2 separate regions of the Homo sapiens genome follow, and region 1 is linked to region 2. The links are contacts of gene promoters, found by promoter capture Hi-C in blood cells and fetal thymus (Javierre and others, 2016). All regions are on one chromosome and are shown on one strand. Each heading gives the region's core, a stretch centred on a gene start or on the middle of the fragment in contact. The rest is flanking DNA. Distances are from core to core; before and after follow the strand shown. Region 1 overlaps SCD5 (stearoyl-CoA desaturase 5). Region 2 holds the start of TMEM150C (transmembrane protein 150C).

Region 1 (6,679 bases), core at 1,070-3,569, 120 kb after region 2:
CTCTCTCCTCACTTTGGTGTTCTTCATGTGTGACTCACAGAGATCAGGAAGCCAGTAGTTTAAAAAAACCCAAATGGCTACTTCCCCAAATCTCTGCAAAATACCAAGGCACCAGTGGCATCATTTTAGGACTGCTCTAACAGAGTGTAACAGAAACAGAAGGGGGACAACTTTGGCTCCTTGGGAACCTGGTGTATTGGCAATCCACCAAGTGGAGAGGCAGCAGTGGCTGAGGAACAGGGCAGCACTCACTGGAGCCCTGAGACAGACTCTGGTGCCCCTAGAAGGACAGGCAGCAGAGTCCAGCAGAGTCTGCCCAGCCCACAGAGCTGAAGTAGGGCTCAGTGCATGTGGGGAGCACACCCTATTGGACTTCTCATAATGGGAGACACGGGAGGGTGTCAGGGGCTGAGCTATCAGGGGCCAAGAATTGATGGCATTCACTGTTACAATTAATGAGACCTTAGCTATAGCAATGAGTCAGTGAGATCTACAGACGTTTTTTTACACTAATTTTTTTTTAAATCTGATGATGCTTTCAAAACTTTGAGAAGATGAATTAAATTGGGAAGCAGTGCTTTTGATAGGAAAATCTGAAAATAAAAATAAATTTAAGTATTATATTACATTAGCCTTTTCTGATTATGACAATAGTAATAATATTTTATACCATAATATTCAATACTGGGTAATGTTCTCATTAGGAGTCTACCATTTCATAGAGATTGGCTTCATCCTTCTGATGAGAAGGGAAGAAATTGTTTTGTTTTTGTTTGTTTTTTGAGACAGTCTTGCTCTATTGCCCAGGCTAGAGTACAGTGGTGCAATCACATAGCTCTCTGTAGCCTTGACCGTCTGGGCTCAAGTGATCCTCCCACCTCAGTCTCCCAAGTAGCTGGGACTACAGGTGTATGCCACCATGCCCAGCTAATTTTTTGTTTTTCTTTTTGAGACGGACTCTTGCTCTGTCGCCCAGGCTGGAGTACAGTGGTGTGATCTTCGGTCCCTGAAACCTCCGCCTCCTGGGTTCATGCAATTCTCCTGTCTCAGCCTCCCGAATAGGTGGGATTATAAATGTGCGCCAACAAATCCAGCTAATTTTTCTATTTTTAGTGGAGATGGGATTTCACCACGTTGGCCAGGCTGGTCGAAAATTTTAAAAATCCACCTAATCCTTGGGTTTTGGGGGAGAGAAAAAGGAGGCAGAAAGTTCCGACAAGCATATGTTCAGCTTTGAATATAAAGAGAGAAAACAGGAGCATGGCGGTTTATGTATATCAAAAATTATAGCCTGGCTTACTGTAATATGAAAGAGGTCTTTAGATTTTACAGTGTATTTAAACATGGTGGTTGGACAGAGTGAAAACATTTTATTATTTAGAATCACAGAATTTGGAGGTGTAAAATAATTTCAAATGTCAATCAAGACTGCTGTGGTCTAAGAAATAATTTCTTCCTTTTGCATTAGTTTATTGCTTTTATTGTAGTGCCCATGTGAACACGACATAGAAAGAACACTCTGTCCCCCATTCACAGATGGCAAAATTAAAGCTTAGAGGACATTTATATAAGTTCATCCAACAAATCAAAACATAATAGAACTAAGATGGCATTTCCTTGGTTCTCAGTTCACATTTCCATCAACAAAATATTTCCCTTACTCTCCAAATGTTGCAGGGAGGGATCTTTTATGGAAAACTTTCTTTCATCTTGTTAAAAGGTTATATTGGCTTGATATGGTTTGGCACTGTGTCCCCACCCAAATCTCATCTGTAACTGTAATCCCCATGTGTTGAGGGAAGGACCTGGTGGGAGGTGATTGGATCATAGGGTCAGTTTCCTCCATGCTGTTCTCATGATATTGAGTGAGTTCTCACGAGATCTGATGGTTTAAAAGTGTGTGGCAGTTTCCCCTTTGCTCTCTCTCTTGCTCTACCATAGTAAGACATAGCTTGCTTCTCCTTCACCTTCCACCGTGATTGGAAGTTTCCTGAGCCCTCCCCAGCCACGCAGAACTGTGAGTCAATTAAACCTCTTTTCTTTATAGATTACCCAGTCTCAGGTAGTTATTTATGGCAATGTGATAATGAACTAATACATGGCTGTTTAATTCAATGTCATGCAATCTTGTAGAAACTCTAAGTGAAGAGTTTCAAATAGCTAGAAACATTATTCTCACAAAATTAATTATAATACAACAACAATGAAAAGACCCATCATGATGAAGAAAAGTTCAAACAGAGATATTTATTTTCATTCCTTTCACCTGGATACCTTTCCAACAGAAGCTACCTGACTGCAATAGTGGAATGAAGCAAGTATAACAGTGGAATGAAGCACATTCCAAATAATCAAGCACATAATGAAGCCAAAAATACTTTAAGATGTATTTTTTAATCCTTTGTTATTGTTTTGTTTTCAAGTGTAAAGCTGAGTCCAGTGAAAAATGACTCAAAGAATAAGATGTGTTTTGTAGTTCTTGGGAACTTGGTAATAAATAAATTAAAAAAAGAAATTAAAGAACAAGATGTGCATCAACAATAGAGCAGAAAGGGAGCAAGATTTATATGTTCACCCAATCAATCACCTTTCTTCCCTACTTACCTGCACTTTTGTCTGCTCTGGAGTGATTGGGAGTGGGTGGGTAGGGGAAAGAACCTACCTGTGAATAGCATTTGTGTTGAAAAGGTTTGGGTACCTAGAGCTCATTTTGGTACAGTCAGTATGTGCTTTAGCAACAAGAAGAGGGGAAAGCTGAGGATTAATGAGGAGGGAGAGATGGCCCAACCATCTCAACCTTGGGAGGCGGGGAGTGAATGGAGATCAACTGTACTGGAAGCCATACCCCCAGCGGTATCCTGATAATCTCTCTTCCTCTTAGTGTTTGCATGGTGCTGATAGCTCTTGTCTAAAACTATGTGTGCCACTCCATCACCTTTGCTGCACGGGAAACAAAAACAATATTAAGGCATACAGAGATGACAAATGCCCATCATGAACTGACTGTCAAGTATGGGTAATCTGTCTGTTCATGTTCCATGTACATATTCTGGTAGGGACATGATGTTGAACTCAGCAGTAATTCCTGAAGCTTAGATACTTAAACATTCAAACAAATCAATTACCAAATTATTGTATTAAATTTGCAACTTAGAGTTTATACTGAATTGTAGGTTCCAGTAGATCACAGTCTTACTCTGCAATCCATTAAAAGTGCACTCTCACCACATGTTAATTGATTATTCCTGATAAAAAATTGGAATACTGAAGGGAGCTACATTAGTTCTAAGAACGCTGGGCATAAATGAGGCACAGGTAGGTGGGCGAGCGAGAGAGGAGTAGGAACAGAACAAATCCGGAGTGTAGAGCTCAGGTGGTAGGCTTCATTAGCAGAGACGCCATACTATAGTCCTACTTTGCAATAGAAATATAACTCAAGCCACATAATATAACTAATATTTTCTTAGTAGCCACATCTAAAAAGTGAAATGACCCTTGATTGAACTTGGGCTACAGAAAAAATTAATAAAATAAAAGGTGAAAAGAGGCTGGGCACGGTGGCTCATGCCTGTAATCCCAGCACTTTGAGAGGCCGAGGTGGGCGAACCACCTGAGGACGGGAGTTCGAGACCAGCCTGGCCAACATAGTGAAACCCCATCTCGACTAAAAATACAAAAATTAGCCGGGCATGGTGGTACGCGGCTGTAATACCAGCTACTCGGGAGACTGAGGCATGAGAATCACCTGAACCTGGAAGGCAGACATTGCAGTGAGCGAGATCACACCACTGCACTCCAGCCTGGGTGACAGAGCAAGACTCTGTCTCAAAAAACAAAACAAACAAAAAAAAAAACTAAAAACAAAAAAAGTGAAAAGAAACAAGTAAAATTAATTTTAATAATATATTTTACTTAGTGTAACATACCCAAATATTATCATTTCAATGTATAATCAGTATAAAAATTATTGAGATGCTGTACATTATTTTTTTTCCGTACCAAGTCTTAGAGATTTTTCACTTGTAGCACACCTCCAGGGGCTTGCCGCATTTCAAGTGCTCAGTAGCCACACGTAGCTAGTGACTACCACACTGAGCAGTGCAAGTCTAACTCATGGCTTATGCACTTTTTTTTTTTTTGAGACAGGGTCTCTCTCTGTCACCCAGGCTGGAGTGCAGTGGTGTGATTATGGCTCACTACAGCCTCAACTACCTGGGCTCAAGCGATTCTCCCATCTCAGCCTCCCCAGTAGCTGGGACCACAGGCACATGCCACTATGCCCAGCTAATTTTTTTATTATTTGTAGGGATGGGGTCTCACTATGTTACCCAGGCTGGTCTTAAACTTCTGGGCTCAAGGGATCCTCCTGCTTCAGTCTCCCAAAGTGCTGGCATTACAGGCATGAGCCACTGCACCCAGCCACTTGTACGCTTTTCAATGTGTGCATTATACTTCAAATTTAAAAGTTTGAAGAATTAAGAATTCAATGCTGCCTACTGGTGAGAATGTGAAATGGGCAGAAAGTGTGTGAAGGGCAAATGAGCACTACATATCAAAAACCCTAAAATTGTGCATATATTTTCATCTAACAATTCACTTTCTGGAGTTTATCTTAAGGAAATCATGGTTGTGTTCAGAGATTTAACCACAAGGATGCTAACTGCAATAAAAACTTGGAAAGACCCTGCATTTCCCCATAACAGGATTTGATTAAATATTTTGTGATAAATTAATTAAATAGTACTTGTGTGTGTATACATATACAATAAAAGCTTATATATACATGAAAGAAATAGTAAGAGAAAAAGCCTTAGTGTTACCTCATGGGAATGAAATTGGGAGGTAGGAATGAGGAGAAATACTTTTATGCTTGATCCTATACTCTGAAATTATTAGAAAGAATTCTACTAGTGTTGTATTAAAAACTAATTAACAAAAAAAAGGCTATTGTAGTATTGACCTAGAAAGATGAAGGTAAAAGTAGTTAAAAGAAAAGTACTTCTTCGCCGGGCAGGGTGGCTCACACCTGTAATCCTAGCACTTTGGGAGGCCAAGGCAGGAGGATCACTTGAGATCAGGAGTTTGAGACCAGCCTGGCCAATATGGTGAAACCCTGTCTCTACTAAAGGTACAAAAATTAGCTGGGCATGGTGGTGGGCACCTGTAATCCCAGCTACTCGGGTGGCTGAGGCAGGAGAATCGCTTGAACCTGGGAGGCTTAGGTTGCAGGGAGCTGAGATTGTGTCACTGCACTCCAGCCTGGGCAACAGAGTAAGACCTTGTTACAAGAAAAAAAAAAAAAAAAGAAAGAAAGAAAGAAAAGAAAGAAAGAAAGAAGAAAAGTACTTCTCAAAACACTATGAATCCATTTTTAATAAAAAATATAAGTTTAAGCATGGGAAAAACAAAAGAAGTATCTTAGCCAAACTGTTTGCAGTGGTTCTCTCTAGGAATTGGGACTGTGGGTGACTCTTTTTTATTTTGTCTGTGTTTTGTAAATTTTTATAATAAACAGATTATTCTTTTGTAATACAGGAGAAACAAGTTATTTTTGAAAACATTTCTATATTCCTGAATGAAAACAACCCAGCTTCTCCTCGATGAAGCAGTTAAGATTCATCTGGCAATCCAGTCTGTTAATACACCTTTATGTCATCCTTCTTCTATCTTTATTCTCGTTAGCAACTAATCAACCAATCACACGTCAAGTGGTGTGGCAGTGCCCTCGCTTGAACCCATTCTGTATTTTGTGCCTCCATTACTTCACTATCCATGATTGATAACATACCTAAGTGGGGTCTCCACTGAAACTGTAGAAATTGAAATTGACCATGAGGTGATTTTTCTCCCACGCACAGCCTTTGAGTGTTATCTGGGACTTGAGCAAAGGTCATCAATCTCAAGAGTCCACCGAAAAGAGGTATGAAGCAACCTGCTCCTTCAGAACTACTCCCCAGCTTCCTTTTATGTTCAAAATAAATTCTCGAATCTAGTCATCTAAATGGCAACAGAGGACACTGTCTTTTAAGGCCCACATAATTTCCACTGGTTAGCAAGATGAAGGCTAAATGTAAACAGCATTTAGCTTGTCCCATTCAGCAGATCTGAAACCAGAATCATTGATTGGTTTTCCCCTAGCCTAGCTGGAAACAGTTGCTTGCTCCCAACCAGACACCAAGATGGTTTTGCTATCCCTTAATTCAATTTTGTGGCTGTTTAAAGTTCCAGAACAAAAAACTTCCCAAGCAGTCTCAAAACATAGCCAAAGGGAATTCCACTTGTATTCATAACACATCTTTGTTTCCAGTCAGTAGTGAAAAAGAAACCAGGACCAACATGTCAACATGTCAGCTTGAACAGGCAGGTTTTAGAGTAGAAAATATGCGTGTGCATGCATGCATGTACATGTGCATGTGCGTGTGCGTGCGTGTGGTGTGTGTGTGTGTCTGAATGGCATCCTTTCTGGGAAAGGAGCTGTTCTATCAAGAGGGTCAAATAGAAAAAGATACTGGTGGCTCCACTCCTTAGAAACTGTAAGGCTTACTAGAGATAGACTTTATCTCTGTCTCTGGGGTCTAAACTTAATCTCCTCCAGTTCAGACGCCAATTCAAACAGTGAAAAACAATGTTGGGTGCTTTCCCCATTGTTGATACGGGGTCAGTACTTATTTCTCTCCAG
Region 2 (6,009 bases), core at 1,709-4,208:
TTAATTCTCCCCACCCTTGAGAATGTACTTTGTGAGATCCACCCCCTGCCTGCAAAACATTGCTCCTAACTCCACCGCCTATCCCAAAACCTACAAAAACTAATGATAATCCCACCACCCTTTGCTGACTCCTTTTTCGGACTCAGCCCACATGCACCCAGGTGAAATAAACAGCCTTGTTGCTCACACAAAGCCTGTTGGTGGACTCTCTTCACACGGACCCATGTGACAGGGGCTGGGCACAGTGGCTCCTGGCTGTATTCCCAGCACTTTGGGAGGCCGAGGCGGGTGGCTCAATTGAGGTCAAGAATTCAAGACCAGCCTGATCAACATGGTAAAACCCCGTCTCTACTAAAAATACAAAAAAAAAAAAAAATTAGCCAGGCATGCTGGTGGACGCCTGTAATCCCAGCTACTTGGGAGACTGAGGCAGGAGAATCGCTTGAACCCAAGAGGCGGAGGTTGCAGTGAGCTGAGATTGTGCCACTGCACTCCAGCCTGGGCGAGAGAGTGAGACTCCGCCTCAAAAACAAACAAACAAAAAAAGTAGGGACACACTTATTACACACCTGTGTCTAGTCCTACGCTTTTCATGAACTTAGACCTGGATTCAATAACACTTGGACCCTATAATGTTTTGGGAACTTCAGCACACATCTCATTGGACCCTTACCAGAACCTAATCACACCGTAGTGCTGATTCTAAGTGTTACAGATTCTTCTGTGAAAGGGGATGACTGAGAAGTAATACATTATCTTGTCAGTGCTTGTCTTGCTTAATTGGTTACTGAACTGATCCCAAATGGCCAGATTGCAGTGAAACCAAATGGCTGAGATTGCGGGGTCCAGCTAGCTTTTCCTCTCTCATGACTCCAGGCTGCCCTGCTAATCTGACCCACTGTACTAAAGAGGTGTGGGTCACAGGCGAGACAAAGCAGGAAGACAGACAAGAGTGTAAAGCAAAGGGCCTTCTCTCTTGACAATTGCAAAGCAGATAAAGTGAGCCCAAAAACCCCTGCAAGGTCATTGTGAACATGATTGTGGTAGTTCTACAACAAAGGCTAAATAGAACGCATTATTGTGTTCACGCAAAAAAAAAAATTACTCCATAGAGCAAATTATCCCCCCACAAAGCAACATGGAAAAGGTATTTGTAAGAAATGCATGAATTAAGCAATTGCTCTGAAGACTTAAATGCCAATTTAAATAATCCAAACAGATTGCATTCAGCTAATGGCAGATTATAATAAACATGCATTAAAGTGTTTTTCAAATACTTTAATATATTTGTGAATGTCATAACATCTATCAACTAGTCATTATTGTTAGCAAAACTTCTTTACCCTTTTATTTACCATGTCCAGTTTGTGAGCTTCCAACTTGGGGGACTTGCAAAACATTTATTAAATAATGTATAAAGGACACACCATTAAAATTCCTACGCTTATGCCTTGAAGATTAAACTCACATTTCTAGCTCATTAATAGATGACAGCTATAGTTAATCCTGGAAACATGGAGTCTCTAGAACACATACAAGAAAAAGTTTGGGATTTGATACATGAGAGCTGAGACTAAAATTCTTTGATCGGTCACATATATGGGCCTAACAATTTTTCCTTGAAATAGGAAACTTTAAGTAGGTCAGTTTAATGACTGCTACCATGGAGTTTATAAATCCACACTCAACTATCCTTTCGATGAACTGCTGCCCAGAATGGAGTTATAGCCCTGCACTATTAAAATGTCTTTGGTTCAAGCAGAGAAAGATGCAGAAACTGATCCTGCCATTTAGGCTTTGTTATTGTTTTAGATCCAATAACTGTTTGGTTTTGTTTTTCAACATGGCATTGGTATATCTGGTTCCCCAACAGGACCTCGCATGTAGGACATCGGAGTGGGTTCACTCGGGAAGATGGACTTCCATTCTACCTGAGCTATGTTCCCACATGCGGTCACAATCCTGGCCCAACCGTGAAAGGCGGTCTGGCCGGAATAAACCTGACCAAAAAGATCAGTGAAATGTGTGGGACATCATAAAGTGCTGTGGGGGTAGGGGTGGAGGAAAGGAATGAGTAGAGAAAAAAGGAGCATGAATTTAAAATGGGAAAACCCTCTCATACTCCATTTGATTCATTTAAGGAGGGGAAAACCACTCAAGGACTCTCTCCAGAACCCAAAGCTAATCACTTTTTTATTGCAGCAGATTACCAAAGAGCCTAGGTAACCCACCTACCACGGCCTCCCGCCGAAAAACCAAAAATCCCATTTCTTCCCAAGTGTGCGCCCAGGAAAGGAAGGAAGACTGTGCATTTAGAGTGGAGGGCGGTACACAGGGCAAAGCAAGTTAGTGCCTCCTTCCCAGATCCCCTGCTTCCCGAGCCAGCCTGACCTGGCTAACCGCAAAGTGCAGGGAGAATGGCACAGGGACCGGGAGGTCAAACTTGGGGTCGCTTCTCACCCGAGTCCACCCGATAACGAGATGATGGGGCGGCGGGTGGGGACACCTGTCAAAGGACGGGGCCGGGGCCGGGGCCGGGGCCGCAGCGGGCGGGCTGGCTGGCGGCACTGCGGCGGCGGGGACCGAGGCGCGCCGGCTCGGGCGTTCGCAGGTCGCGGGGCAGAGCCGGCACCGACTCCTGGACTTGCCGGGGAGCGTGCGCCCGCGGAGGGCTCGGGCGGGCGGCCCCGCGCCCGGGACGCTATGGGAGGGGGCCGCAGCCGAGCAGGGCCCCGCAGCCGGGCGGACCCAGCCGCCCCAGCCGCGCTGCAGCCCCCGCCGTCCCCGGTCTCCGCCTGCGGGCTGCGCACGGGGCCGGGCCGGACGCCCCCTGGCTGCGCGACGGGCCCAGGCAGGGGAGGGGGCGCCGCGCCTACCTGCTCTGGTGCGGCGGGGCCGCTGTCGCCTCGAGGGGCTGTGACCTGCTGCGGTGGCGGCGGCGGCAGCAGTAGCGGCGGGTAGGGCGCTTCCTTCAGGAAGGGGTGGGATCTGCTCACCCGCCCGCCCGGCCCCCTCCTGCCGCGCCGGGGCCCGCCCCCGACTTATTCTGGGGTCCCCGCTGCTAGGCCTTCGGGGAGAGTTGATCCCCTGGGTCTCGGGCTTCTGCCACCCCCCCGGGGCCCCTAATAGTCACCCGGGGCAGGAGCCGGGTGTGGGCGGGCGAGCCGCTTCCTTCCGAAGCCTTTGTGGACGCGTTTGCCTGGCGCTCCTCATCCAACAAAAGGAAGGACAGAATCTTGGATCCTCCGCCTGGTGGTTATTTATTCCTGACCTGTTGTAACCTTCTGCCTGGCTCTCTTTCGTCCGCACACCTAGGGTTTTTGCACAAAGCAGCTAAAATTCATTTTCATGCCCATTGACTGAATGTAGTTCTCCTCCACTCAGCGCTGTCCCGCGGTTTTTGGTTTTTTTTTTTCCATCCTATTGAACAAACACAGAGCCAACTTCGGACCCTGGCAATGAACAGCAGACACCAAGGCCGACCTCCCAGCGCCAGCTTGCAGCTTTCCTCCCTGGGTCTCGTCTGAGTCCGTCATAAACTGTGTTCATCAGCGTTTTGACAGCTTCCCCCATCCCGGACCCCCAACCTACCATGGGACCCCATGGCACCATGTCAGTGACCTCTAGCAGCAGCATGGATCAATGCCATTTTTATCTTAGGCTCATCATGAGCCTGGGTTCCAAACACAACCTCTCTGGCCTCCAACAGGTGGCTCTCTATCAACCGGCCTTTGTCAGTCTGCCCTCTATTCTTTTGGGGGCTTCCGTAGCACACCTGTCTCCTTTAAACTGCTGTCTCTACACAAGCAGGCATTCCCTTTTTTTCTTTTTCTTTTTCTTTTTCTTTTTCTTTTCTTTTCTTTTCTTTCTTTTTTTTTTTTTTTTTGAGACGGAGTCTTGCTCTGTCGCTCAGGCTGGAGTGCAGTGCCGCAATGTCGGCTCACTGTAACCTCTGCCTCTCGGGTTCAAGCGATTCTCTCGCCTCAGCCTCCTGAGTAGCTGGGATTACAGGCGCCCGCCACCATGCCCGATTAATTTTTGTATTTTCAGTAGAGGCGGGGTTTCACCACGTTGGCCAGGCTGGTCTCAAAACTCCTGGCCTCAAGTGATCCGCCTGCCTCAGCCTCCCAAACTGCTGGGATTACAGGCGTGAACCACCGCGCCCGGCCCAACCAGGTGTTTCTAAGAATCTTCTCCAATTCAGCATATTCAAATTCTGCAATTAACGTTCGGTTCCAGAACTCTCCCTTCCCCACAATTCTTGTGATTATTGTCTACTATGTGTATATTGATTCTTTTTTTTTTTCTGTATGTTGATTTCTTGTTACTGTTTTCTCCTGGCTACTAGACTGTAAGCTTCCTGAGACCAGGGATCTTGCCTTCTCTTGTTTTCCTTATTTTAATGAGTGGGACTGTTATCCATTCAATTAAAATAGCAAAAGCAAAAACTGAATCTTAGTCTAGACTCCCTTGAAAGTATATGCTCAATTTTGTGGGAATTAGCTTATGTGTACTTTTCTGAGGAGAGTAACTACACATTAATCAGACCCTCAAAGTGGTCTGACTCCCCCAAAGGTAAGATTGCTTGAGGCCCATCCATGAACCCCTCCTCTCTCTACTCCCTGTCCCCATGCCATTCATTTCTCTCTGCAATAACGGAAAGAGTCCTCTAGCTAGATCTTCCAATTCATTCTTTCAGAAGTAGATCCAGCCAAAGAATTAGCTGTCCCTCAAACACAGAAGTGGTACTCTGTTTTCACATCAGAATCACCAGTGGGGGCTTTAGAAAATGATGCCTGGGTTCACCTCAGACCCAGAGTCAAAACCTGATTGGAGGTGGCGGGGGAAACCAGAACACAGGTATTTTGACAAAGAACCGCAGGTGATTCCGACATGGCCATGCCATATCACTCCCTTTCTTGGGAATAGGGCTCCCAATTTGTAAAATGCCCTTACTTTCCCCTCCCCCATTTTTTTGTGGAAGGATTGAGAATCCATGCACCAGGTTTAATTTATTTCAACATTTTCATTTTCATTTAGAGCCAGGCCTATGTTTCCTAAAAAAAACCAACTTGAGTTTGTGAGGATCGCAGGCTCAGTGCCATTCCTCAGCACCACTAAATCACCGCCGCCTTCATCTCCAAAATGTCCCTCCAAATAAACCCAAAAAGCAAAATGAATTACATTCCTGACAGTGATATTACCAGCTGAAATTGTGTGTTAAAATGCTGGCCATGAAGGAGAGTTGGTTGCTATAAGCAGATTCTGTTAATGTCATGAGAGTTCGAGCGAAGCTTCGAGAGTACAAGCAAAACATGGGCTTCTCTGTGCCTTTTTCTTGGTATCCCATCTGTTAAAATTTGTTGTCCACCATGTACTCAATATACCCTTAGATATTTTAAATCATATATGGGTGTAAGACTGAAATACTTTTCCAGAACCGGTTGTCCTTTTTTCTTTTGAGTATTTTTTGGGGGATGAATTTTAAATGAATCTCTGAAGGCTTCCAGCCAGCACTTGCTTCTACCTCACAAAGACCATTAAAGGCCCCAAGGCAGCTTGGTCCTGAGTATTTGGGGAGTGAGAGTGAGGAATTGTTGTGTTGATGAGGCAAGCACATATTTGTGAGGATCTTCCTACATCCTCTTCTTATTCCTTTTTTTTTTTCTTTTTTTTTTTGAGGTGGAGTCTCGCTCTGTCGCCCAGGCTGGAGTGCAGTGGTGCGATTTCGGCTCACTGCAACCTCCGCCTCCCGGGTCCATGCCATTCTCCTGCCTCAGCCTCCCGAGTAACTGGGACTACAGGTGCCCGCCACCACGCCTGGCTAATTTTTTTTGTATTTTTAGTAGAGACGAGGTTTCACTATGTTAGTCAGGATGGTCTCGATCTCCTGACCTCGTGATCTGCCTGCCTCGGCCTCCCGAAGTGCTGGAATTACAGGCGTGAGTCACCGCACCCGGCCTCTTACTCCTTTTTATAGGAAGCTAGCTCTCGGAGTATGTGCTATGC

Evidence for each region. Contacts are between HindIII fragments. The CHiCAGO score rates a contact against its expected background, and 5 or more counts as called.
Region 1: a fragment that was not itself captured here is called in contact with the fragment with the promoter of TMEM150C in region 2 in 1 of 17 cell types (M2 macrophages); the score reaches 5.3 in M2 macrophages.

What each region holds. Positions count from the first base shown.
Region 1 is chr4:82,681,885-82,688,563 of GRCh38, forward strand. The region is part of intron 2 of SCD5 (stearoyl-CoA desaturase 5); the gene reads right to left. Among named protein-coding and RNA genes, the nearest start is that of LINC00575, 64 kb to the left of the region's middle. The HindIII fragment of the contact is 1,540 bases long and covers 1,550-3,089 here.
Region 2 is chr4:82,559,030-82,565,038 of GRCh38, forward strand. It overlaps TMEM150C (transmembrane protein 150C), which reads right to left and starts at 2,959. Exons shown (of 8, transcript NM_001080506.3): 1 at 2,877-2,959. RefSeq lists an enhancer at 2,685-3,184. The HindIII fragment of the contact is 8,598 bases long and covers 1-4,354 here.